Linked DNA regions of Homo sapiens: all the other regions are linked to region 1. Evidence: promoter capture Hi-C in 16 types of primary human blood cells and fetal thymus (Javierre and others, 2016). All regions are on one chromosome and are shown on one strand. Each heading gives the region's core, a stretch centred on a gene start or on the middle of the fragment in contact. The rest is flanking DNA. Distances are from core to core; before and after follow the strand shown. Region 1 holds the start of GBP5 (guanylate binding protein 5). Region 2 overlaps LOC107985743 (a long non-coding RNA gene). Region 3 holds the start of LOC107985743 (a long non-coding RNA gene). Region 4 overlaps LRRC8C (leucine rich repeat containing 8 VRAC subunit C). Region 5 overlaps LRRC8C (leucine rich repeat containing 8 VRAC subunit C). Region 6 overlaps LRRC8C-DT (LRRC8C divergent transcript). Region 7 overlaps KYAT3 (kynurenine aminotransferase 3).

What was found. Contacts are between HindIII fragments. The CHiCAGO score rates a contact against its expected background, and 5 or more counts as called.
Region 2: a contact is called between a fragment that was not itself captured here and the fragment with the promoter of GBP5 in region 1, in 4 of 17 cell types (total CD8 T cells, naive CD8 T cells, non-activated CD4 T cells and 1 more). The highest score is 10.2, in total CD8 T cells.
Region 3: a fragment that was not itself captured here is called in contact with the fragment with the promoter of GBP5 in region 1 in 1 of 17 cell types (total CD8 T cells); the score reaches 5.1 in total CD8 T cells.
Region 4: a contact is called between a fragment that was not itself captured here and the fragment with the promoter of GBP5 in region 1, in 3 of 17 cell types (total CD8 T cells, total CD4 T cells and naive CD8 T cells). The highest score is 7.9, in total CD8 T cells.
Region 5: a contact is called between a fragment that was not itself captured here and the fragment with the promoter of GBP5 in region 1, in 1 of 17 cell types (non-activated CD4 T cells). The highest score is 5.6, in non-activated CD4 T cells.
Region 6: a fragment that was not itself captured here is called in contact with the fragment with the promoter of GBP5 in region 1 in 1 of 17 cell types (non-activated CD4 T cells); the score reaches 5.2 in non-activated CD4 T cells.
Region 7: a contact is called between a fragment that was not itself captured here and the fragment with the promoter of GBP5 in region 1, in 1 of 17 cell types (naive CD4 T cells). The highest score is 5.4, in naive CD4 T cells.

The regions. Positions count from the first base shown.
Region 1 is chr1:89,270,901-89,274,768 of GRCh38, forward strand. GBP5 (guanylate binding protein 5) reads right to left here and starts at 1,960. Exons shown (of 12, transcript NM_052942.5): 1 at 1,552-1,960. It also overlaps the pseudogene LOC100421401. The HindIII fragment of the contact is 6,725 bases long and covers 1-3,868 here.
Region 2 is chr1:89,758,035-89,761,902 of GRCh38, forward strand. LOC107985743 (a long non-coding RNA gene) reads left to right here. Exons shown (of 3, transcript XR_002958333.2): 3 at 823-904. Among named protein-coding and RNA genes, the nearest start is that of LRRC8D, 61 kb to the right of the region's middle. The HindIII fragment of the contact is 1,120 bases long and covers 691-1,810 here.
Region 3 is chr1:89,741,091-89,744,958 of GRCh38, forward strand. It overlaps LOC107985743 (a long non-coding RNA gene), which reads left to right and starts at 2,723. Exons shown (of 3, transcript XR_002958333.2): 1 at 2,723-2,906. The HindIII fragment of the contact is 1,582 bases long and covers 1,074-2,655 here.
Region 4 is chr1:89,717,016-89,720,883 of GRCh38, forward strand. LRRC8C (leucine rich repeat containing 8 VRAC subunit C) reads left to right here. Exons shown (of 3, transcript NM_032270.5): 3 at 1-2,518. Among named protein-coding and RNA genes, the nearest start is that of LRRC8C, 86 kb to the left of the region's middle. The HindIII fragment of the contact is 3,140 bases long and covers 204-3,343 here.
Region 5 is chr1:89,659,710-89,663,577 of GRCh38, forward strand. The region is part of intron 1 of LRRC8C (leucine rich repeat containing 8 VRAC subunit C); the gene reads left to right. It also overlaps the pseudogene LOC100505788. Among named protein-coding and RNA genes, the nearest start is that of LRRC8C, 29 kb to the left of the region's middle. The HindIII fragment of the contact is 780 bases long and covers 1,706-2,485 here.
Region 6 is chr1:89,626,851-89,630,718 of GRCh38, forward strand. All of the region lies in intron 2 of LRRC8C-DT (LRRC8C divergent transcript), which reads right to left. It also overlaps a transcript of LRRC8C not described here. Among named protein-coding and RNA genes, the nearest start is that of LRRC8C-DT, 4.1 kb to the right of the region's middle. The HindIII fragment of the contact is 4,677 bases long and covers 1-3,868 here.
Region 7 is chr1:88,945,794-88,949,661 of GRCh38, forward strand. KYAT3 (kynurenine aminotransferase 3) reads right to left here. Exons shown (of 14, transcript NM_001008661.3): 11 at 3,298-3,484. Among named protein-coding and RNA genes, the nearest start is that of KYAT3, 45 kb to the right of the region's middle. The HindIII fragment of the contact is 3,334 bases long and covers 133-3,466 here.

The sequences.
Region 1 (3,868 bases), core at 710-3,209:
AGATATTGAGAGCTTACAAGATCTTATGATTTGGGATGATGTCACTAAGGAAGAGGGAATGAATGTGTCTGAGTGTTCAGACTCTCTTATGAATGACAATAGCATTGTATATCTACATTAATAATAGTATTTGACATGTTGTCCCCAATGTCATCTGGATAGCATCTTTAATGCTTTTAGTAAAGCCAAATTTCTAAAACATTATTGCAGATTTAATGTGTTCAAGCCACAAACATAACTGTTGCTCTGTTATTCATAACTTAGTGTTCTGGGATGCATTCTCCCTAACTGCTTGAGCCCTATAACCTTTGCAAATAAAAACAATGCAAGAATGGTTCAAAATACACACACAAAATGCACATTTTGCCCTTGCCTTAAATTAGACTTGATTTCCAACCCCAGCCCTACAACTGGCTATCTGTATCTCTCTGGCATTTCACTCAATTCTTTCAGCTTGTTTTCTAAAAAAGCAAAAGTAAATAAACAACTATTTATTAACATCAGTATAACTGCTGGCTTATGAAAGAGAGTGAGCGAGCTGCAGGAGATTTTAAAAAGTGCAAAGAAGGAAAATGCCCAAAAAAAAATACTAAGAGAAAATGCTCAGAAGTGGTAGTGGAAGGATTTCTGAAAGAAAACATCTGTTTTCAGCCATATGATTCTAGTTTGGGTTTTGCGCCTGCATTTGTATATGTAGTTGTTATTGCTTGCTTTTGCTTATTTTGCATAGTTTCTGGTTTGAATTTCAAGGAAAAGGAAAAGGCTCTTATTAAGGATATAAATGGAAATCAAACTAGTACAAAATGCTTGAAGTATGTGTCATGGTAAGAAATTCAAAGGAGAGAATTTCAACGAGTGAACAGTTGCCAGACAGTATTGAGGGATCCAGTTGGGCAACTGTTAAATTAGGTGATTCATAATAGTAAAGGCAATAGAGTAGTAGAAGCAGAACCCAACACAAAAGGGGTTAGTTAAGTGAGTAGATGCCAAGAAACCAACATGAATTAAGTCAGGGCTATTGCTAAAGGAAGAAATCTACTTTCAAACAAAGTACAAGACTATGACTAAAAATACATCACTGTTTTCATGAAACTTCTCTCTGGGCAACATTTTTTTCTTGTCCTTAATGTTTGCAAGCTACTTACATTGCATCATATTCATTGTTCTTTCTCATGAAAATAATAGCTATCATAGTTTTTGAAACTTTCATGCTGAAGTTCGAGTCAGTTTAATCAGATTTTATGAAGGACGAAGGTAACTTAAGTGGAAATTATGATCCTGAATAAGTCATAAAATTGCAAAGGAAGAAAAATAATTTGAAGGCATTTCAAACTCTTAGTTTAGTCACCACACACATTGATGTCTAATTCAGCAAGAGGCAGACACAGCTGGTACTTGATGAATTCTGCTGCCTGTCTGATAAGAATACAATTTATTCTTTACTGAGGTCTGATATACCACATCAGGATAAGCTGCATCCTATCCTTTGTAGAATGTTTCTAAAACCAAATGAATCTTGCAAATCTCTTCCACCTCTTGCCCCAGTCTTACCGTGTCCGGAATTGGTGGGTTCTTGGTCTCACTGACTTCAAGAATGAAGCCGCGGACCCTAGCGTTGAGTGTCACGGTTCTTAAAGGTGGCGTGTCAGGAGTTTGCTCCTTCTGATGTTCGGATGTGTTTGGAGTTTCTTCCTTCTGGTGGGTTCGTGGTCTGGCTGGCTCAGGAGTGAAGCTGCAGACCTTCGCGGTGAGTGTTACAGCTCTTAAGGCTGCGCGTCTGGAGTTGTTTGTTCCTCCTGGTGGGTTCGTGGTCTCGCTGGCTTCAGGAGTGAAGCTGCAGACATTCCCAGTGAGTGTTACAGCTCATAAAGGCAGTGTGGACCCAAAGAGTGAGCAGCAGCAAGATTTATTGCAAAGAGTGAAAGAACAAAGGTTCCACAGCCTGGAGGGTGACCTCAGTGGGTTGCCACTGCTGGCTACTTCTCTTATCTGGCCCCACCCACATCCTGCTGATGGGTCCATTTTACAGAGAGCCGATTGGTCCATTTTACAGAGAGCTGATTGGTCTGTTTTGACAGGGTGCTGATTGGTGTGTTTACAATCCCTGAGCTGGACACAAAAGTTCTTCATGTCCCCACTAGATTAGCTAGATACAGAGTGTGGATTGGCCTATTTACAAACCTTGAGCTAGATACAGAGTGCTGATTGGTGCATTTACAAACCTTGAGGTAGATACAGAGTGCTGATTGGTGCATTTACAATCCCTTAGCTAGACATAAAGATTCTCCAAGTCCCCACCAGATTAAATAGATACAGAGTGCTGATTGGTGTATTTACAATCCCTTAGCTAGACATAAAGATTCTCCAAGTTCCCACTAGACTCAAGAGCCCAGCTGGCTTCACCCAGTGGATCTTGCACCGGGCGGCAGGTGGAGCTGCCTGCCAGTCCTGCTCCATGCACTGGCACTCCTCGGTCCTTGGGCCATGGATGGGACAGGGTGCTGTGGAGCAGGGGTCAGCACAGGTTGGGGAGGCTCAGGCAGCACAGGAACCCATGGCGGGGTGAGGTGGGGAGCGGGAGAGGGGAGGAGGCTCAGGCATGGCAGGCTGCAGGTCCCCAGCCCTGCCCCACCGGGAGGCAGCTAAGGCCCTGCAAGAAGTGGAGCACAGCAGCTGCTGGCCCAGGTGCTAAGCCCCTCACTGCCTGGGGCCGCTCCGAGTGCAGGTCCCTCAGAGCCCAAGCCCACCCAGAACTCGCGCTGGCCCTCAAGCACCGGGCGCAGCCCCAGTTCCCACCCCTGCCTCTCCCTCCACACCTCCCAGCAAGCTGAGGGAGCCAGCTCCGGCCTCGGCCAGCCCAGGAAGGGGCTCCCACAGTGCAGCGGAGGGCTGAAGGGCTCCTCAAGTGCCGCCAGAGTGGGTGCCCAGGCAGAGGAGGCACCGAGAGCGAGGGAGGGCTGCAAGGGCTGCCAGCACGCCGTCACCTCTCATTACCTTGATTATAAAATCGGGAGAAGAGGTATTTTAGAGCTAGTAAGAAAACTGCTTCCATGAGGGACTGGGCACGGTGGCTCACGCCTGTAATCCCAGCATGTTGGGTGGCCGAGGCGGGTGGATGACGAGGTCAGGAGATCTAGACCATCCTGGCTAACACGATGAAACCCCGTCTCTACTAAAAATATACAAAAAATTACCTGGGCATGGTGGCGGGCGCCTGTGGTCCCAGCTACTCGGGAGGCTGAGGCAGGAGAATGGCTTGAACCTGGGAGGCGGAGCTTGCAGTGAGCCGAGACTGCACCACTGCACTTCAGCCTGGGTGACAGAGCGAGACTCTGTCTCAAAAAAAAAAAAAAAAAGAAAAGAAAAGAAAAAAGAAAGCTGCTTCGATGAGAACTTGCTGAGTTCGAACTCTCGTCTTTTACTTTCACTGTGGTGATTTCTCATTTATTTTCTTCACTCAGTCCTGGGGTTTTTGTTCTTCCCACCCCATTTTCCCTGCTCGAAAAAGGAGACAATTTGAATACAAAATATGGAATAACAGAAAGGGGGATTTTTGAAAGTTCTCTGTAGGAAATAGAAACCAAAAAGGAAATTCAGTGACTAAGCCAGATGACAAAGGGAATTGCCCAACTGTTACCTAGTGTAGATAGGCTGGATGTATTTGACCTGACTTCTTTGAAACTGCATGTTTCCTAGAAACTGCAGAGAATCCTTTCAGTGCCAGCCATACTCCTCCCTGCTTCCATTGTTGTTGTTACTAGAAGAGAAATTTGAGATCTTTCACAGTTGTTCAAAGTATGTGGTATTTCAAACCTAGCTTGAAATACGTTGACATTCATCTCCAGTTTGGGAGTAGGCCAGGGGAAGA
Region 2 (3,868 bases), core at 1-2,500, 490 kb after region 1:
TGATTACCACGAACTGAGAAATCTCTGCAATTAGCAGGAGTGTAACTGGAAAACCAAGGGCTCCTCTGTGCCTTACCAAAAGACATTCCCTCTTCCTCTGGCAAGTTGAAGAAGATAATTTGGCCAGCCTAGGAGGAAGTGATTGATTGAGACAGAAATGGTGGAGAGAAGGATGACTGTGATTTTTACTTTGGTGATGGGCATGAACATAACAAAGAACAGATGGTGGATGCCTTAGTCCCACTGGTGTTATCAATTCCGTAGCCCTGAGCCCTGCCCTGCTACAGGCTTATGTAATTCTCAAGCATGTGCTCTCATGGCCCAAGGGGAGACTATGCAGCACAGACCCTCCAGCTGCGAGGTTAACTCATCAATGCTCCACCCTTGTCATCTTTGGGTTCCAGCACTCAGGCCCTGGATATGCCTCTCACCAGAAGTGAACACTTGGTGGGGGCTGCAATAGACCCAATGAACACATCAGCTGCAGTTTGCATCTAAAAGAAATGATTCCAATGTAACATGACAGGGGACATATGAGACGATGAGTAAACAATAGAGAATAAAAATAATGGAGGAAGAGTTGAGGAAAAGGTCTCCTTTGGGCTAGGATAAAGTCATTTCCTTAGCCAGATCTAAGGGTTTAACTCTTAATTTGGAGGCACCAAGAAGTTACAACACAGTGCTACTTGAAGCTTATTTTATAGATAACATACTTAACTGTTAACAGATTCAGTTAGCTGTTTACAGTTTAGTTAACTGGATATAGTTCTCAACCCACATGGGGTCAGTCATTTTCAACAAATCTTTTTATTTTCTCTATAGAATTCAGAGTTCAAGAGCTCCTTAAAGGATACACAAAACTGTCATCAGTAGTTAAGATTTCGGTGGTCTGGGGGTGAATTCCAGGTAAGTAGTCCCTCTTATCAAATGTCTCTTTAACAATGCTTGCAGCTATCTTGATGTGACAACCATCACAAAAGCAAATATTAATCAGATCACTAAAGGGACACAAATAACCGACACTAGCCAAGAAAGAATTCAAATATATTTTTGAACTAGTTTGGGGCCAACTTTTGTGTGAGAAGAGGAATTGAGTTCACTTCATCTGGTGTTAACTGAAATAAGAGTTAATGTGCCAAATATCTTCATCAGTGACTAAAACTAAGACCACAGATTAGAGTGCCAAAGGGTGTAACTAGAAGGAAGTGTCAGCATTGCAGAAAAGAATGCAAAACCAGGAGGATCTCATGTGAAGGGCTGGCTGCCTAATGGATAAGAAATATGGCCAGAACACAAGGAAGGAGACTGGCGAGTAATAAAGCTGAATTTAAAGGCTCTCAACAAAGCCACCTTCTCTTGCAGGATTACCACTCCTCCTGCTGCTCTCAGGACAATTCCTGAGCGCGCTGGTGAGAGGCTATGTTCAATCATCCCCAGGGTCCTTCAGCTCTTCCTTCCCTGTTGAAGTAGAAATGAAGATCAATTTTACTTAAGTAAACATTTGGTTCTCACAGCCATAAGAGAGAAAGTTCGGTTCTCAGAGAAGTACGTACAACTTACTTCTCTTAAGACAGCTCCGTTTTCCTAAAGACAGTTTATGAACCCCCAAGAACCTACAATGTTCCCTGGAGCCAGTTTAAAGTGTTGAGTCCTCTCTGGTTCTAGGATTCTAGAAGGATCAAAGTTTATTAACAAATCATATAGCAACTACGACTGCCCAACTTTTCCACACAGTTTCTTCTCCGTAACCAGATCATGTTAATGTAATTACTATCAAAATTTAAATAAGTTTTTTTCATAGACATAGACAAGCTTACTCTAAAATTTATATGGAAAGGGAAAGACCCAAGAATTGCAAAAAACAAAAAAAAAAAAAAAAAAAAAAAAACTTTAAAAACAAGAATAAAGTGGGAAGAATCACGCTTCCAAATGTTAAGGCCCTATATATAAGTGCTGTATCCAAACAGTATGGTATTGGTAGAGGGAACAGGCAAAGCAATCAATCAGTGGAACAGAATAGAGAACACAGATATAGACCCACTCAAAATTCCCATTAATTTTAGACAAAGAAGTAAAAGCAATGCAATAGAGGAGAAACAGCCTTTTCAATAAATGGTGCTGGAGCAATTGGACCTAAACCAATACCAAAATTAACTCAAAATGGATAATTGACTAAAACATAAACATACAACTATATAAGAGAAAAATCTTTGGGGTGTAGGACTAAGCAAAGTTCTTAGACTTGACACCAAAAGCATGAGCCATAAGAAGAAAAATTTATAAATTGGATCTCATCAAAATTAAAAACTTCTGTGAAAGACCTTGGACAAAGGATCAAAAGACAAATTACAGACAGGAAGAAAATATTTAGAAATTACATCTCTAAGAAAGGTCTTGAGTCTAAAATATATAAATAACTCTCAAAATTAAGAAAAGGACTGCTTTTGTTTGAATGTTTGTGTCTCTCCAAAACTCATATGTTGAGATCTAAACCCCAAGGTGATGGTATTAAGAGGTGGGACCTTTGGGAGGTGATTAGGTCATGAAATGGAGGGCTCATGAGTGAGAACAGTGCCCTTATAAAGGAGCCCAAGGGAGCTTATCTTCCCTTTTCACTTAGTGAGGACGCAGGGGAAAAGAACTGTTCTAGGAAACAGGAAGTGAGCACTCACCAGAAACCAAATCCAATCTTGGACTTCCAGCCTCCAGAACTGTGAGAATTAAATTGCTGTTGTTTATAAGTCATCCAGTTTACAGTGTTTTGTTATAGCAGCCTGAGCAAGCCAGACAAGGGCCCAAGGCCTCCATCAGCACCACGTTTTATGATATGTGTTCTGTGAACCATCTGACTTCGGATCTTAGAGGAGGAGGTAGCAGAGGGATTGGTAAAATGCCGATTCCCATGGACTGCTCCAGAAATTCTGATTCCATAGATTTGGGCAGGACCTGAGAAATCTGCATTTAAAACAAACTCCTTGAGAGACTTTTTTTATTATTATTAAAGTTTGAGAACTCCCACCATGGCCCAATCTACCAAATTATAAAGGAAGAGCATGCTGGGCATGGTGGCTCATGCCTGTAATCCCAGCACTTTAGGAGGCTGAGGCGGGTAGATCACTTGAGATCAGGAGTTCGAGACCAGCCTGGCCAACATCGTGAAACCCCATCTCTACTAATAATACAAAAATTAGCTGGGTGTGGTGGTACGCGCCTATAATCCCAGCTGCTTGGGAAGCTGAGGCAGGAGAATTGCTTGAACCCAGGAGGCAGAGCTTGCAGTGAGCTGAGATCGCACCACTGCACTCCAGCCTGGGCAACAGAGTGAGAGTCCATCTCAAACAAACAAACAAAAAAGAAGAGCAGCATTAGAAAGAAAACCTGTACTGGGACAGTTGTGCCCTAAAGGGGCAAGCAAAAAGAAAGGGAATAAAGACTAGCAACAACCCAGAAGTGCTGTGAACAACAGTTTCTAAGAAGTGACCATTCTCTGTATTTATTAGGATGTGAAAGAAATGAAGTTCCCTCTCTCACACACACATTCGAGAATACAAGTCTGAGGAGAACCTGCTCTGGGTGAAGAATTTTTTTTATAATTCTCATATTCATGCTCAAGGAGCATGCACTCCTAGGCATATATTCACAAGGGGCTATGAGAGCCCTGGAGAGACCAGGTACTCTGAGGGTAGGACACATACTTTAGCAACTTGGGGGACACATTCTCAAGCTGAAATGGTGTCTCTGGAGCCCATACGAGTTGTGCCTGTGGGGGCCCCACAGACAGGGACCCTTGGCATTGCTGATAATTGAAGGGTCTGCCACAGAGGTCTCTAACATGACTTTCTACCACCATCTTTCCTGCTCACTTGCA
Region 3 (3,868 bases), core at 615-3,114, 470 kb after region 1:
GCTTGGCTTTCTCAAATGAAAAACAAACAAACAACAACAACAAACCCTTTTCTCTATTCACACTTCTGATGCCAAATGTGTGGGTCATACTGAGCAATTCTCCAATTCTCTGGGGACACCAACTGGGTGCTGGATGTCCACTTTACTTCAATTATGACACTGGTTAGCTTGTGCTGACAGTTAACACAAGCCCCACAGATTAAGGACTCAGTCCCACAAGACTGCCCCCACTTCATTTGCCAATTGCAAGTAGTGGGTCTCCAGGTGACCCATAACTTCCGGCTTGCCTACAGATCAGGGGCTCTCACAATCCCCTAAGCTTTCATAATTTTCTGCAGTGGCTCACAGAACTCAGAAACATTCTACCATTACTAGTTTATTACAAAGGAGAGTATAAGGAATACAAATGAGCACACAGACAATGCAGTACCTGGAGGGAGGTCCAAAAGGGTACCAAGTACAGGAGCTTCTGTCCCCATGGAGTTGGGGTGCACCACCCTCCCAACACGTGAATGTGTCCACCAACCCAGGAGCTCTCTGAACCCCGTTGTTTAGGGTTTTTATGGGGGGTTCATTGTGTAGATATGGTTGGTTCAATCACTGGCTGTTAGTGATTGACTCACTCTCCAGCCCCTCTCCCCTCCCAGGAAGTTGAGGTGGGGAATGGGGAAGGGAGATATGGCTGAAAGTTCTAACCCTGTCATCAAGGCTTGGTCTTTCAGGTGACCAGCCCTCATCCTGAAGCTGGCTAGGGACCCCAGGTACTAGTCATCTCATTAGCATAAAAAAGACAGTCATCACTCTGGAGATTCCAAGGTTCTTAAAAGCTCTTGTGCCAGGGAACAGAGAATAAGACCAAATATAACAAATGGTGCTCCTCTTACTCCTATCATTCAGGAAATGATGAGGGTTTTAAGACCCATGTGTCAGGAACTGGGGTAAAAGACCAAATATATATTTTTTATTATGTCAGACAGCTATAGGCAGATGATTCAAGGGGCACAGTTATACCTCTAATGCCTTTGTGCAAATTATAAAAAGGTGGCTCCTTCAGGCCCATGGATTGGGAAAAAAGCTTTTATTCCTCTGGGCTGAAACATCTCTGAGACTGGGGAGAAAGGCAGGGCTATAATTCAGCCCACTGTCTTCCCTCCCCCTCGGCTGGACACTTTAGTGCAGTACAGAGACGGCACAGCTGTACCTGGGGCTATGGGAGAAAGTGGTACTGGGGGCCAGGGATATGTGGAAGACCAAGTGCCTCACCCTTACTATGCTCACCCCAAGGATGAGACTCTTTTTCTTTCCAACTGCAGTTTAATTGTTGTAGGGTCTCCTCAGGATGATGCTCACCTCTTGATCCTTCTCCACCGTGCCTTGCCCTGTTCCAGGCCTGTGGTATCAATACTTAAACTGAGCTGACCTAGGAAGAATGCCTTTCTTGGGTGTAAAGATTGAGCAAGCAATGGACAGAGCCATTTGAGGAGGGGCAATGTGTTGTCATGGAAAGGCCACACATCCTGGAATCAACTGACCTGGTATGGTGGCTTGATGGGTGTCAACTTGATGAGGCTGAACTGCATTTCCCAGAATTCCCTTTGCTGCGTGTTTCCCATTAGTGTGGACCACAGGAGATATTGTGTGAAAGTTGGAGGGAAGTAGTGAAGCCACAACCATTAAGTAGCTCACACATGTCTATGTTGGCATGAATCTGCTGGCTCATTTGCTGGGTCCTCCAAACACATGGATGTTTTTGCCTTCCCAGAGCTCTCCACTGTGAGAGCACTTGCTGTTGTGCACCGGCCCCACCTCCTAATACTCCACCTTGGGATTAGGATTTCAATACATGAATTTGGGAGAGACATAAACATTCAGTCCATCGCAAATCTCTTGCACTCTTAGCAGACAGCTAAATAAACCAACCCTGTCCCTGTCCATTGATCTTCTTCTCCCAGTTAAAATACCAGCATTTTCTCAGGATATTTGAAAGCTAGTGCTTTTACTCAAAGAAAGAGTATGGGTAGAACCTGTAGGCACCTTACTAGGCTAGTTGGGGAGGTATTTTGGGGTGGTTCTCTCCCAATCCTACCATGAGCAGCATCATATACTTTATTTGGATTGATAATAAAGGTGATTATTTGTGACCTTATTAACAGGGAATATAAATGCCTCAGAGAAGGCTTCCACTGTTTAAAACTATTTTCCAATTTTATGAGTTTTCTGGAATATGAGGTTATTCAGAGAAGGAGCCCTCTTGCAACTCCCTGGCATCTTACCCTCAGTTCCATCTGCATTTTCCACTCTCAACATCCACGCATAAACAGCCAGCATCCAGCCACTCTCTCCCCTTTTATCCTGCTGTGTTGTCACCCTGTCCTCCCTCTGTCTTGTCAAAAATGAGCAAAGGCATATTAGCCACCCTGGGACGGCTTGACACGGAAAAGGTGTCCTTTCAAAATCTCAGAATGTCACGATGAACTAGTTGAGAAAACAGTATGATGGACTGTACTGGCTTCTCCAAAGTCAGCCCCTGTGGAAAAATATTGAACATTTGACTCATTCACTGACATTTGGGACAGTTAAATGGGAGAGGAAAAAAAAGAAAGGAATGAATAAATTGCTTCTTTTTCCTCCATAGGTATCTGATTCAGGCGCCAAAGCTTATGAATCTTGGAATATAGTCAGCTACAATCATGGGTTATTCTCCAAATGAAGAGTCCAAACACTGGCAAAATAAAAAGCACATTTGGTCCATCACATTCCTAACTATAATGGATGCTGAGAAATGGATGCACTGTAACAACCCGCAAGTTTCCTGGTACTGCTGCTGTCATTGCAAAACCATTGCAAAGTATCCATCTCTTGCCTCTGCCAGAAAAAGCCAGCCGTTAACAGAAACTAAACCCAAGGTCACTTACTTTCACATAAAGAGAATATTTTGGCAGCTGCCAAAATTCATTTTTCTAATGTGCACTTACCCAATAACTTAAGCTTGGCATCCTGGGCGGAATCCAACTTGGGTAATTCCATTTTCACAACCGAATTCCCCCAAGGAGTTTGAGCTGAACATCACATTATTCTTCACTTCTCCAGCTATCCTCTCAGTAATCAAACGAGTGCTTTTCATCCCTGAAGCGTCATGGAAATATAGGGGTGGGGGTTCAAAAAAGGGTTTCTTCTTAAGAATATAGTGATGAGAGGTTCCGTTATACGAACTTAGTAAAGTCCTTTGGAAGTCAAGACTGGTTTCATTTTTTTAATTATTATTTATTTATTTATTTTTTGAGATACAGTCTCACTCTGTCACCCAGGCTAGAGTTCAGCGGCGCAATCTTGGCTCACTGCAACCTCTGCTTCCTGGGTTAAAGTGATTCTCCTGCCTCAGCCTCCTGAGTAGCTGAGATTACAGGTGTGTGCCACCACACCTGGCTAATTTTTTGTATTTTAGTAGAGATGGGGTTTCACCACGATGGCCAGGCTGGTCTCAAACTCCTGGCCTCAAGTGATCCACCTGCCTCAGCCTTCCAAAATGCTGGGATTACAGGCATGAGTCACTGCGCCCAGCCTGGTTTCATTTATTTAACCAACAGGTATTGAGGTTTGTGCCAAGTGCTGGTCTCAATATTGCAGGTGCAGCAGGACATAAGAAAAGGTTTCTGCCCTCAAGAAGTAAATATTAGAATAAGTATATGAAATAGGGCTGGAGAGAGACACAGGAATCAGACCATTAAGGCCATGATATGGAGTTTGGATATTATTATAAGTACAGTTGGAGAGTATTAGTGGAGTGATGATCAGATTCAGGGTTTTTAATAAGATCACTGTGAAGAGGAAGAGCCATTGTACAGGATACCTGTGGAACCAGGGTCTT
Region 4 (3,868 bases), core at 524-3,023, 450 kb after region 1:
ACCTGGAATTGAAATAATGTGCTCAGAATAATAACATGGTTATAGTTCTTGTATGATAAAGTATTCAATTTCAGAATAGTGTTGGAATCCTGAGTTTGAATAATGTGTTGTATTTAGAAACATAGCCCTATCTGTTTTAAACAAATAATTTGTTGGCCGATTGTCCATGGTTGAGCATGACAAAAATACCTCGTCGAAAGGCAAGCTTAGGTAACTGCTGGCAAAACACTGGGTGCACTATTTTTCTGGATAAAATTTATAGTTATTTTCTATATTACCCTTCAAAAGGGATCTCTTCAGGTTAAAAATCACGCTTATGCTGAAGTCTTTATCTGGTGTTAACTAAAAATCTCATATGGGTTCATAACCGAGGTCACTAATAATTCATTTTTATCACTTGTAAAAATTTGCTCAAAATTCCAAAAAAATATTGATTTGTTTTTTAGTGATTTTGCAGGCTGACCCCCAACCTAAGTTTTGATAACATCTGGTAAGTCAGTATAGTTCTGTGACTTCATGTTTTAACTAAGAAGGAAAATTCATAGATATTCCTATTAGATTTTATAAACCTTCAAAAGTCTGAAACTTAATTTTGAGTCTAAATTTTCTGACACTGGCCCCTTTTAATATTGTAAGTTTTTGTTCACTTTCTTAAGTAAAAAAAACATTTAATTACTAGTTAGCCCTTAACTGGGAAACTCAGGTAATGAACTGCTGACTTTTCTAAAGTTCTTTAACTGATCAATTCTGTATAGAGGGATATTTATCTAACCACTTTCCGTATTTTACAAGTGCTCTTTCTAAAAAGGAATAACTATTATAGCTCTATTTCCCCAATCTCTATAGGACTCATGAGAGATTGCTTGTGTAAATATAAAAGCACCATATGTGTTCTTAACTCCTATGGCTGCTTGAAGCTCATGATGAAAAAGTCTTTTTGTCAGTTTTAATTGTTAAGTACAGAACAAACAATTGTTTGGTGATGGCCTGGTTGAAAGAGAGCATATAAATATATCCCAGTGGAACTCACCAAAGAAGACCACACCTCAGAAATTATTGCATTTTCTCATTATGTGTTGGGTTTGATTTGCTTTTGTTTTTAATGCAGCTCTTTTAATATAAAGATTCTTGATACAGTGAAATCTCTTATTTCAAGTGTAAGTTATTCTTCACCCACCCCTTCCCCTGCCATTGTATTTCCCATCTGTTTCAAGGAGTTTCAACAATTTACATTGCATCGTATGCAGTAGGTACTGCTTTTTCAGAAAGACCTGGAAAACATACCTGCTATGAATATTTTGTTCAGATGTAGCCATTTACCTGGCTCTCAAGTTGTCTTTGTGGAGAGGGTCTTAGACAAAAATCTTCCTTGTATTTACTTGGGTTAAGTGAAGTCCAAATTCTTACAGTATGCTATTTCAGGATTTCTGATATTAAAAAAGAAAAAACAAAATCTTTATATCTCTTATTAACACTTCCCCCAAGAAGGGTTGTGCTGTTATTTATTTTCTATTATAAGAAAAGTTCATTCTTTAAGTAGTTTCTTTTACCTCTAATCTAATTTCATACCAAATACCTGATCAATAGAAATGATATATTTAAGCAGCAAAGATTCCTAATCCATCATTATGAAAAGTGTCAGCATACTTAGTAGTGAACAGATAAAGTCAATTTGAATATAATTCCACTTTGTTTTTAGAGACTAAATTAAGATTCAATTAACATTATCCTATGAATTCTGAATGTGATAATGTGATTCAAACAGTCAAATTTTATTAAGCTCTTAGTAACTCAGGATAGCATTCCATACTAACCTCAAGTTAGCAAAACAAATTAGTTAAACAGCTTGGTTCTTAGCAGACTGCTTAAAAGATCAAGAAAATTTTCTCATCTTTTCTTTCTACTTAGAAACATTGCAAGAAACCTTGGACAGTCTTCACCAGACCTGCCATGATTTTATAAGATTTAGGCCTCAGTGACATGCTCCTGAAAGTTTCCTGCCAGCCATCCAAACTAAGCATCCACTCATTCCATCTTCCCAAAGTCACTCACCGATAAAGGTAGCATCCTTAAGTTCATTTTTGAAAGGTGGAGGAGGATCTCCCCCTGCCCAAAGGAATTTTTTTATCAGAATACCTTGAAAGGGGGGTATATAAATTTGGAAAACTTAATTTCTTGGCTGTGTTTGATAACAGTTCCTATGCATGGTTTTTAATGTGAGGTAAATTTGTTTCTTTCTTCAGAATACCTCTCTCCACCCCCCACCTTATTCTTCCTCTTTAATGAATATTTTTATTGGAGCTCAAACTCCATGACTTACGTGCTCACTAAGTTTTCTTTTTTCCCCTTGTTTACTCTGTCTGTATGTATGTCAAAAGCTGGCAAAACCTCTAAAACTGTCAAGAAAATGCTTGAAAGTTGATTTGTCATAGTGCAAATTCATGATAAAATGTCTTAATGTTATTTGGATATGTAGTACATAGAAACAGAAAAATAAAGTCATTTTTATAACTTAAAATAGATATTTGTCCCTCTCTTACTCATTTTTAGAAATCATGTTTATCGTTTGCATTTCTTAAACTATTACTAAAGCTCCCTTTTCTCTGCAGGAAATAAGCTGCATGCATTCTTTCACTTTGTGTTGAGCTAGTTTCTGTAATTGTGACTAATTATTTCCTTCCTTAATTCACTCTACTGTATCTACCTAAGGTGCCCCTGGAGTTTCATTTGGGTAATTAGTGCCTTCATATGTAATCTGGAGTGCAATTTCTGTACGTTTGCCAGATGAGATTGTACAATGGCTGTCCAGCTCAGCTTTCAGTAAATAGTCTTATAGTAATGACTGTGGTTACTTAAAGGAATCAGCATGATCCTGCACAGCTAGGAGGCCTCCTCTAATTAACCACATTCACTCCAGGCTTAGGGAAGCCCTCTACAAGGAAACTTTATGACCACTTACGCATAAGAAATGATGGGTAATTTTCAAAGTTAAATAGTCCCTTTACACATTTTTATTAATAATAGTGTTTATTTTACTGATCATCAGCCCTCTGGAGAAGGATTGTTGAGATAAGGAAGGGTGGTGAGTGTGATGGGAGAGGCTGTGTAAGTGTGAGTAGCACAAATTAGAAGAGATCATGTGAGAGCTCTGGAGAAATTCTGGAAAGGAGCTAGGGAATGCAATAGATTAGAGACATCTGGCGATTTCAGTGCAATCTGCACGTACAGAAAAAACTGCCCACTGCCATTCTCCACTGTCCCATCTTCTAGTCCTTTCACTTACACAGAGTATTGAGATAAACTCTGAAAAATTTTAAATTGGTTATTATTGGCTAGCAACATAAGCTTTTCGTTTGGGTGAAGAAGTAAATGCATAAAAAGGAAGTTATTAAAGTTCATTTGAGACTCAGTGGAGTATTTACACGGTCAGAGCACAAGGCCCACATATTTCTGAATGTAAGTTTGAATGTCATCCTAAATTTGCAAGTAGGAAAAAAGTGAAAGCTGTTCATTAGCTACATAATTTTGTGTGAGCATAGATGTTTGAATGCAGACTATACTGTAGGTTTCACATTTAAACATATTTGAACATATTTAGGGACAAATTATTAAAATAGTTATATGATCAGGCATATCATAAGTGATAGAATATTCCCAGAGTTTGAATATTTTGCATAAAAGATACAGGGTAGGCAATGATATCAAACATCTAAACCAAATTGGCCATTCCAATTATTTTAATCCAGGGATTTTTCTGTTATAAAGTTTGAGAAGTAGAAAATGGGCTTTCTCCTTATTTTTTAATCCTTTACAGAATTAATTTTATTTCAACTCGAGTTACATCTGGACTTTTGCCATTAAAAAAATA
Region 5 (3,868 bases), core at 846-3,345, 390 kb after region 1:
CCCATCAGAACTACAGTTTTAATGTTCAAAGGATCATCTACATTGAGAAACTGTTTTGAGAGGTAAATCATTGCTGTACATGTGGACTAGCTCTGTGTCATGCAAAAGTGTTACTGCTCAGACAACTAGGTCAGGGGCTGGGCATGCCAAAATGAGCAACCTGGTCTCTGCCCTTACAGAATTTACAGTGTGGGAATGGAGATAGTTGAGAATATAAATAACCCAGGGGAGTGAAGAGGTGAAGAGAGCAAGTAGGAAAGTGTTGATCTTGGACTGCTTATGAAAATACTCAGCCACGGGCTTCCAAAATAGGACACTGCAGCTGTGGTCTGAGACCCCTTCAAATATTATCCAAGCAGCGTGCTCTTCTTGAGAGAGGGTGGGCTGTGTGGGGAAGCCTGACAGTCCTGATGTGGTGATCTGGGAATGGGTGGTGTCCAGGTAAGTATTAACCAAAGATGTGATATTAAAATATAAATTCATGGAGTACTGAAATCATTTTAAGTGAGTAAACCCTGCCTTTGATAGGCCCAGATAAAGCTCTGGTTTTTCCCTAAGACCTCACTTAGTGCGTAGCTGTACTTTTTATCACAAACAGAAGAAACAGATGTTTTGGGGAGAATAGGTCTCAACCTCACCTACATGTTGGAATCACTTGAGGACCTCTAAAACAAAACAAAACAAAAACCTCATGCCTGGGCCCCACCCCAGCGGTTCTGATTTAACTGCACCCAGGCATCAGTGTTTTTAAAACTCTCCAGATGATTCCAATGTGCAGCCAAGGTTGAGAGCCACTCTTCCTCCCTATCCTAGGTTTTATTTCCCCCCAGATGTTCCCTAATAAATTTCAGGAGACTAGCTCAGCCAAATTCTGTCAACAAGTTTTCCAATCAGAAGTTATTAATTTAATACCAGTCCATGTGTTTTCCCTTTGAAAACATGTGCACTTTCTGCATTTCAGTAAGTAATGTTGGCTCCTGGAGAAATACTCATCTTAAGCTCCTAGTGGAGCAAAAGAACCTTTCTCATCCAGCACCCTGCCTCCAGACAGCAAGCTCACCATCAAAACATGATTCACTGTCCTATTTTTCACATCTCCTTGGCATGACCAACCCTCAGATTTCGTCCTGTAACCATTTATTTGGTCATTTAACAATGGGTTGTTTCTTCCTAAATCTCTCATGCAGCAGTTTAAAGCCTGTAATGTGCAAAGTTGAAACATTTTGTATTTGGCACTGAAGTCTATCCATGGACATCCAGGCTCTGGACTCCTCTGGTAGCCTTTTGTATTCCTTTGCTTGTCTCAATTTACATAGTGTTTCTTTTTGTTTTGTTTTGTTTTCCAAGTTTCAGTTATTTACTAATCAGTGCAATCGCCAATAGATTACATCAACATGATTTCATGCATTTAGAGGAGAAGTATTTCCTGGTTAAGCGGAAAATTGTGTGGATGGCTTCTGGAAGACCTTCATTCTAAAGCAGCTTTATAGTGAAACATTTGTTAGAAATCTGGACCTTCTTTCTTCAGTTTGCTGTAATCCACAATTACTGAGTAGAACTTGTATTGATCATTGGGAGCCAGTTTGTTCCAGGGCTCTGGATTATTCTTTCTGTCCCAACTAACATCTGGATTGAACAATGCCAGACACGAGATACAGTGCTGCTCCAGTACCTCCAGCTCCAATGAATACAAAGAGGGAGATCAAGCTTAGATGCTTCTTGGACTGAGTGATGATGTGGTGGAGCATGTTTGCTGAAGAGGCCTCCGATTGGAAAGGAGAGAACCAGCCTAGCCACCAGGCTCTGGCCTAAGTAGTATCTCCATAGTGTTTCTTGATAGGTTCTGTTTCTACCACTTTACTCTTCTAATTAACAGATATCTGGTGAATGACAAATATGGGCCAGACACTCTTCTGGGCATTAGGGACAAAACATTTTGCAAATTGGGCAAAAATTTCTGCCCTCCTGGGACTTGCATTCAAGTGGGAGGAGAGAGAAAAGGAAATGCATAATTAGCTAAAATATATATAGTATGTTCAAAGGTGTTAAGTGCTATGGAGAAAAATAAGGCAGGGCAGGAGGAAAGGGAGTGCTATGGCTGAGATATGGTGTGATATTAAATTGGCTTTGCAGTATTATCTAAACAAGAGGAGGGTGAAGGCTTGGACCAGAGGAGTAGTGATAGAAATGGTGAAAAGTGGTTGCAATCTGGGTAAATTTCAGCAAGGCCTAAAGAAGGTGAAGGATTGAGCCCTGCAGATACCAGGAAGATGAGAATTCCAGACAGAGCTGTTGCAAATGCAAAAGCAGGAGTGAACCTGGGGTGCCAAGAAACCACTCTAACAGGGGCATCCGATCTTTTGGCCTCCCTGGGACACACTTGAAGAAGAAGAATTGTCTTGGGCCACACATAAAATACATTAATGATAGCTGATGAGCTAAAAGAAAAAAAATCACAAAATCTCATAATGTTTTAGGAAAGGAAAGCTTGCAAATTTCTGTTGGGTCATATTCAAAGCCATCCTGGGCCACAAGTGGTCTGCAGGCCACAGATTGGACAAGCTTGTGCTAGAAGGCCCAGTGTGGCTGGAGCAAAGCGAGTGTGCAGGAGAGGGCTATGAGACTGGTGTGGGGTGGGAGTGAGATTGCAGAGGGCCTTTTAGGACTTTTGTAAAGATTTTCGCTTTTTCACAGAGTGAGATGGAGAATTATTAGAGGATTTTGAATGGAGAAGAAACCCAGGATCATTCTGGTTGCTCACTTGAGATGACTCTCTAGGGGTCATTGGTAGAAGTGGAGAGACTAATCAGGAAGATATTGCAATAATCTTGCAATAATCTAATTGAGAGATGATGGTGGCTTGGATCGGGGTAGCAGCTAAGATGGGTCAGAAATCGTTGGAATCTGAATATATTTTTGTAGGTAAAACTTTTTGCCCTTATGTCTATGTAATATTTTTTGATATTCCTCTTAAAATAGAGCCCTAAACTCCAGTAAGGGACCTGAATAATGCTAGTTATAGCAAAAGGTTAACTGTCTGACTCTTGAATACCACAAATTTAGTATTGTGTTTTCAGCCCCCGCCATGGGGTAGATATTATTTTCCTATGTTTCTTTTTTTTAATTATTATACTTTAAGTTCTGGGATACGTGTGCAGAACCTGCAGGTTTGTTACATAGGTATACACGTGCCATGGTGCTTTGCTGTGCCCATCAACCCGTCGTCTACATTGGGTATTTCTCCTAATGCTATCCCTTCCCCAGCCTCCCATCCCCTGACAGGTCCCAGTGTGTGATGTTCCCCTCCCTGTGTCCATGTGTTCTCATTGTTCAACTCCCACTTATGAGTGAGAACATGCAGTGTTTGGTTTTCTGTTCTTGTGTTAGTTTGCTGAGAATTATGGTTTCTAGCTTCATCCATGTCCCTGCAAAGGACATGAACTCAGCCTTTTTTATGGCTACATAGTATTCCATGGTGTATATGTGCCACATTTTCTTTATCCAGTCTATCATTGATGGGCATTTGGGTTGGTTCTAAGTCTTTGCTATTGTGAAGAGTGCTGCAATAAACACACATGTGGCCGGACGCGGTGGCTCATGCCTGTAATCCCAGCACTTTGGGAGGCAGAGGCGGGCGGATCATGAGGTCAGGAGATCGAGACCATCCTGGCTAACACAGTGAAACCCCACCTCTACTAAAAATACAAAAAATTAGCCGGGCTTGGTGGCCAGCACCTGTAGTCCTAGCTACTCGGGAGGCTGAGGCAGGAGAATGGTGTGAACCCGGGAGGCAGAGCTTGCAGTGAGCCGAGATTGCGCCACTGCACTCCAGCCTGGGCGACAGAGCGAGACTCTGTCTCAAAAAAAA
Region 6 (3,868 bases), core at 960-3,459, 360 kb after region 1:
CCGATTGATTAAATCATTAGCGTTGGTAATTAAGTCAGTTTCCAGTTCCTCTACACTCCCAAAAGGTCAAAGGTCCAGGTGGGGCTGAAAATTCCAACCCTCTAGTCTAGACACACACACACACACACACACACACACACACACACACACACACACACGTTTAAGTTTCCATAGCAACCAGCTCCCATCCTGCAGTTATCTAGGGGCTTTCCAAAAATTGCTTCATTAACATAAACCCAGGTGTGGTTGAAGAAGACATCTTATGAGTAATAAAAGACACTTTTTTCACCTTTATCTGGAGCTATTTCAGGAACTAAAGACAAAACCCAAATATAATCAAAAATGATCCTATAGCTCTAATCACTGAGGAAATTACAAGAGTTTTAGAAGCTGTAAGCCAGGAACCATAGACAATGACCAATATATATATATATTTCTTATTATATCATAATATAATAATATTTCTCATGTGAAAGTTACTTATCTATCGACCCATCTGAACAATAATTCTAAGAATGAGACTCTCTGTCTGGTTATAGTTCATGTTGCCTTAACTCGGAGCTACGGACACATTATGATCTTTGATTAAGAAGTTTGCTTTCAGTTGTAAAGTGCTTTTCAATTAAAGAGTAAGCTGTAAAACCAGCTCATGAAGGCACATATGGGATATGAGTACACTAGTGGAAAAAGCACAAATCAATGCAATTTTGAAATACTGAAAAAGTACATTATTAACCTTACTGAAATAACTGATGGGTTCCATTTAAAAATAAATACTCCTTTCCTATAGGATTAAGTAGTGAGTAAGCATGAGAACCCTGAAATTGACTTGCCTAGGCCCAAATCCCAACTCTTCTACTCACTGATTATGTGACCTTCAGCTAGCTACTGGATTACAATGGGCCTCTGTTTTCTCATCTGTCAATATGAGAAAATAATACTGCCTGTGTAATGGATAGCTATGGTGAATAAATGAGACAATGCATATAAAGCTAGCACACATTGAGCATCCCAAATCTGAGGTGCTCCAAATTTTCTGAACACTGACATAAGGCTTATAGGAAATTCTCATTGGAGCATTTTAGACTTTTGAATTTGGTATGCTCAACTGGTAAGTATAGTGCAAATATTCAAAATCTGAAATCCAGAACACTTCTGGTCCCAAGGAATTTGGGTAACAGATATTCAACCTGCATTTAGCACATAATGTGTACCTCATAAGTGTTTATTCTTTACTATTTCCAAAGAAAATTTCACAAGTTAGTGGGATCAAACAATTCTGTCTTGGGGTGGTAAAATAAATAAGGTTTGTTTTAGAAGAATCTGATTCAAAGTTTTATAGAATCCTATTTTTAGGTCCTTGGTACTGTAGGGAGCAAAAAGGGGTGATTCCTTTCCTTCCTATCATAACAGTTGACACCTCTCTAACAAAGGCAAATTAACAAGAGAAAAGCATAACAAATTTATTTGATCGTAGTTTTGTGTGACACAGGAGCCTTCAGAATGAAGACCCCAAGATATAGGGGCAACTATTCCTTTATTATTATTTTTATTTTTGATTTAGGGTCTCACTCTGTAGATCAGGCTGGAGTGCAATGTCCTGATCATAGCTCACTGTAACCTGTAACTTCTGGGCCCAAGTGATGTTGCACCTCGGCCTCCCAGAATGCTGGGGTTATAGGTATGAGCCACCTTCTCTTGGCCCATTTTTATGCTTGGGTTCAATGAAGTATGGAAAGCTGTGTAGAAATATGATTGGACAAAAGGGGTATGATCCAGCAAGGGGAATGGGGAAATCCAGCAAGGCCTGTCTGTTCAGATTTCTTCTTGGCCTTTCGATATAACATTCCTTCCTCCCAGGTATGGGGTAGGACCCCCTGGAATGAGGGTCTTAATTTCTTTATGGCCAGCAGTTAGCAAGAAAGAGAAAGGGAAGGGAGGGAGAAGATTAGAGTAAAATGTTTAGGCTCTAAGGCTGGTTTTGGGGAAAAGGTTCTGGTTTATATGACCCACCTCAGGGAAGAAGGATTCCAGTTTCTATGGCTTGCTTCAAGGGAGAATAAGAGAGTGAGAGACAGGAGGGCAGGAGAAAGCTAGACAGAGACTTTGCTTCTGAGGCTGCTTTTTATTCCTTCATTTTGGGGTATCATTTTTAGCCCCAATAGACCACCATCTCCTCTGGTACAAATTCAACTGCCATTTTGGGATCAAGTCCACATTTGACATTACCTCTCAGGCAACTTTCTGGGCAAAAGAATTTTCTAGGGAAGGTTTTATTTTTCCCTGTCTAGCATTTTTAATGGCACAGAGTCAAGGATTTCAAAACTGTTGCTAAAGGTAGCATTTATCTTGCAGGTATTAATTCAGAAAGTGCTAATGGTTGCAACAGTCTAAACAACTGAAACTTAAAACAACAACGTTTTCTTTTAGCTCAGCCTCTTCCCACAAAGCTCAGAAATGGTATGGGGAGCAGATGTGCACAGGGTGGATAGAGAATGCAGCGTAAAATCCTGCTGGTGGTTTTGGTTTAGAATGTAGATTTTACTTGCACTCTTACCAGGTAGGATCAACTGAAATCAAATGCAAAACAAAACAAGAATAGCAGGTTGATCTGAAAGAACAATCCCAGCATTGACATCATCAAGGTTTAAGCAGATACATATACATAATACATAAATTTAGTATGAATTATTTATGAGCTAAAGGGTTCAGGTTTTAGAGCCTGTAGTATAATAAGAGTTATACTGAAAGTCAGAACCAATACAAGAAACTGAAACACTTAAAAACTCATTATTTCAATATTTAATATCAGGTCCTGTGCAGGGTATTGATAATGGACATAAAAGTGAATCAAGATACAGCCCTGCCCTGGAGAGGCTCCCAGACTCTGTAGTGAAGAGGCATGTAAAGAGACAAATGAGAGCATGCCATGGTAAGTGCTGTGGTCACACAAGGAAGGAAGAGTTATACTTGCCTAGAACCTGTGGAGGCTTCATAGAGAAGGTGACTTTTAAATTATGCCTTCAGGCCAGGCGTGGTGGCTCATGCCTATAATCCCAGCACTTTGGGAGGCCAAGGCGGGTGGATCACCTGAGGTCAGGAGTTTGAGACCAGCCTGGCCAACATGGTGAAAACCCATCTCTACTAAAAAAAATAAATAAATACAAAAATTAGCTGGGCGTGGTGGCGGGCACCTGTAATCCCAGCTAGTCAGGAGGATGAGGCAAGGAGAATTGCTTGAACCTGGAAGGCGGAAGTTGCAGTCAGCGAGATCACACAGCATGAGACTCTGTCTCAGAAAAAATTAATTAATTACGCCTTCAAGGAACAACTCAGCCCAGCCTGAGTTTTCTTACAGCTAACAACAAAACAACAATGTGACACAATTGCTGTTACCATACAACCCACTAGAGGGGTTACAGATATTCTAAGTCTCACCACAACCCTAAAAGGTAGTTATATTCCAATAGACTGATGAGGAAACTGAAGTTCATAGCTAGAGATACAAGATTTAAGCCCAGACCTATTTCATTCCAAATCCCTTACCATAGCCCTGCATAGCCCAGAAATATCTACTTCTGCTTCTATCACCAACCTGTACATGGTTAACTTGTAATTACACAGTCTTTAGTGTGAGAACTACTAACTCTGGAAGTCCAATTAGAATGTCAAAATTTAGCCTAAAGAATTGGGTATAAAGTGAAAGGTCAAGACAGAGTCTGTGCACCCAGTTCATCTAGCTCACAGTACCCTCTCCTTCCTGGAGATGTGCTGAACTTCAAGCACATTTGCTTCAAAATGGTTTATTCTGGTTTGTGTGTATGCATGATTCCCATGAACTATGAACACCCTGAAGTCGGAGAATAAG
Region 7 (3,868 bases), core at 550-3,049, 330 kb before region 1:
TTGCAAATGAAGCAGATGAAAAGGTAAAACAAAACATAAATTTCTTTATATGTAGGAAGGTTTTGTGGACATTAACATTTTTCCACGAGTGAAGGAAGACCATAAAAAAAATCTTGTTTTCATTATCAGAAAAGCTTTCCTAACCAAAATCCTTTTTGCTCCTATTATCACCACACTAGTTCAAGATCTAAGACCTAAATTAGTATTGCATATAGAATGGATTGACTGAGGAAAGAAATGGAAACTAATTAGGAGCTTAATGTAATATTCTGAGTTTTATCACTGTTCTTTTGATAGTTAATGTCACAATGTGATAAATCGAGTTTCATATCTGGAAAAGTTTGGTTCCAGGAAAGAATTGTTCTTATCTAAAAAGCTAAGTTTCTTTTTATTCAAAAACTACGCAACTAATTTCATTTTTCTGTTTGCCTTTACTGTCAGGAAGTTTAGTCTCAAGTTAATGCTAATTACAATACTATGTGAACCTAGGTGACTGAAATATTTGCTTTCTTTCCCTCCTATGTGTAACTGATTTTTTTTTTTTTTAATTTAAGAGACAGGATCTCACTATGTTGCCCAGGCTGGTCTTGAACTCCCGGGCTCAAGCAATCCTCCCGCCTTGGCCTCCCAAAGTGCTGGGATTACAGGCAGGAGTCACTGTACTGGCCATGTATCATTGATTTTTGATTTAGATACAATCATTTCTATTTATATATTACTGCATAGAAAACTTTTAATATGAGAAGGCTCACATTCCTTTTGGAAGCATATAAAGTACAAATGTTGTTCTTTTAAAAAAATAATAATTCATATGGAAATCTTGGGGATTTATGATTCAAAGGCAAAAATATAAGTGATGACAACTGTGCTAATTTTTTTTATCATTTCATAAAATGAACTGCACATTTAGACTCAATATAGAAAAAGCACTTCCCAAATCTCAGAGTCTAGAACACCTTAAGAGGTTCTATATAAGCATAGAGCTTGGGAGCCTGCTAAATACAGCTCTATGGCAATAGCACTGCAGGAATCTTTGCTTGTCAAAGCCTCTTCTCTCACAACAAATGAAGAAATAAGCTAATGTGAAAGGAAGGAGAGTGTTTCAGTTTGAGCCAAACCTCATGTAATGAATTCTTATGACTGTATGTTGTCTTGGCATCCATTGTGAATATAAGTTGGTCTTTCTTATACCAGAAGCAGGGCTTAGTCACCCTTGACACAATTTCCACTTCTCTTCCTCCTCACAGTTCCTCAATGTAGTTGATTCAGATATCTGCCTGAGACAACCACCTCCTGGCGAGCACCTCACTGTGGTACAGCTAGATACAACCTACTTGACTCGCCCACTGACCCCCACCCTCCTCATGGACTGCCTAGATATGCCACAGTGACCACCTCTCAGTCACAGCCTGACACCATGAGCTTGTGCCTGCTCGCTCTAAACCCATCTGTTAGAAGTCTCTGCAGGAAACCTGCTTGGGTAACACCTTGGGCCCCCAAAAAGGCTTTGGCCCACAGATCCCACTCTCTCTCTGTTCCCCACCTGCTGGTTGAGTGTGTATATCCTGGACCACTCCTCACTTCCCATTGGTCCCGGGAGGCCTGCTGCCTCTTCTGTGTCCCAACTGACCAACACACCGGAACCTAACTCTCCTCCTCCTAGAGAGTGGCTATCTCTGTGGAAATAAACTGGATACAGGTCAGATGAGAGCCACAAGGATGTCTGCCAGTATAAACCAGTTTCCAGGGATGTCTGGTCATGGGTCAGACACTTAACATCAGGCCATCTGCCAGGATAAACAAGTAGCCCATGAAAGGCACACTGCAAACATCCAGGACCTCCCCTGGAGCCCCATCAGGGAACAGCTAGAGTTTACAGCCACTTTCCAGAGAGACAGACCTGAAGACCAAATTATAGGAAAATCATAACACCTTACTTTTCTGAAATTTGCTAAGATGATAATGAACTATTACAAGTAAAAATTGCTAGCATCAAATGCTTATAGTAAGAAAGAACTCAGCCAGTGGCTCATGCCTGTAATCCCAGCACTTTGGGAGGCTGAGGCAGGTGGATCACTCATTAAGCTCAGGAATTCATGACCAGCCTGGGAAATGTGGCAAAACCTCGTCTCTAAAAAAAATTTAAAAATTAGCTAGGTGTGGTGGTGCATGCCTGTGGTCCCAGCTACTCAGGAGACTCAGGTGGCAGGATGGCTTGAGCCCAGGAGGCAGAGGTTGCAGTGAGCTGAGATCACGCCACTGCACTCCAGCCTGGGTGACAGGGCCAGACCCTGCCTCAAACAAAACAAAACAAAACAAAACAAAACAAAACAAAACAAAACAAAACAAACTCCTATGTGAAGGATGTAAAGTTAAAAAATATGATCAATGTTTTGCTATAAAATTGAAAATTTCCTTTACTCTTTCCAGCTTTATACAATTTAGTATAAATAAAACACTTCAGTTTTTCAAGTTCATTGGCATATAACTTCATTGTAATAAAATTTTAAAACATTTAAAACTATATTTAGAATGGCTGTAATTTCTGTCATGATAAATTAGGCTTCAAGGTTTACTATTACTAATTTTTTTAAAAGAAAAGTTATATATGACACATTATCATGCTTCTAACTTTAGATTTGTATGGCATGTCAGAATTACATATAACAGCTTTAGGTAATATAAAAAACAATGCTTTTTGGAAACAGAACTATTTAGAATCTAGCTGTGTGACTTCAGGGAAGCTATTTAAAACTTTCTAAATCTTTTTACCTGCAAAAATGGAGCTAATGTTTTCTTCAAAAGGGTGTTTTGAGTACGTGGCACAAAGTAGACCCTCAATAAGTGTTATTCTCCCATTTATTTTATTTCAGTACATTCTAAAATGGCAAATATTCCCTGATAGCTTCAAAATTTCTAGATATTTTTCTAATGAAATAGTACATTTTGTTAAGTAAAAAGGAAACTACAATTTTACTCAAATGAACACTGAGTATATAATATTATTTCACACACTTGTGTTTTAAAATTACACACCAGAAGAGAGTGATAGCAAATCCTATGTTTAATAGACTAACTAGAACAACACTGACTCCATAACCATTTAACAATGGTCACATTTAAGGTAAAAGGCCTAAAAGTAAAGATAATTATAGAAAATGTAGACATTGCAAAAATCCATCCTTCTCCACAGATAAAATGCTGCTGTGGCTTTGACACCAATCTTTTCTCCATAATTCTGATATAATTTCACACATAAGTTTCCGTATAGTTGAAATAATAAAAGCCTTTACAAACCTAGCAAAGACACATCAGCGATGATGAAGTATCCTCCATCAGGAACTATGGGTTTTAGGCCAACACTTTCAAGTAAACGTACCATCCGATCTCTTTTTACTTCTAACTCTTTTGGCAAAGAATTAAAGTAACATTCTGGGTCATCCATGCGCTTGATGTCAATCCAGAAAGCTTGAGCCAAGGCTTCCTGTTTGTTAAGAATCAAAAAATATGAAAAGGCATATGGCAATGTTATTTATTGCTTAGTTTATTGGTATAATAAATAGAGATGATCTGAGTAAAATTATTGGCAAAGAAGTCACTCAGGAAATAACAGTTGAATTCCTGTGAACCTATATTAAACTCTATAGGTTAATGGAGGAATCAGTTATACCTAAATGATTAAATCTCATGTGAAGAACTGAGAAGGAGTCCTGAAAATTCAAATTGAAAAAGAGCTGTTACTTAAAGGTGGCTTGCTTGGAAACAAAAAGACATTAAGATATTTTCTGCTGAGGTGAGTTGTAGAATGACTTGCTAAATCTAAGTCAGAAGAACAACCAGAGAGTAGTCAGCCTCTCACCATTACATT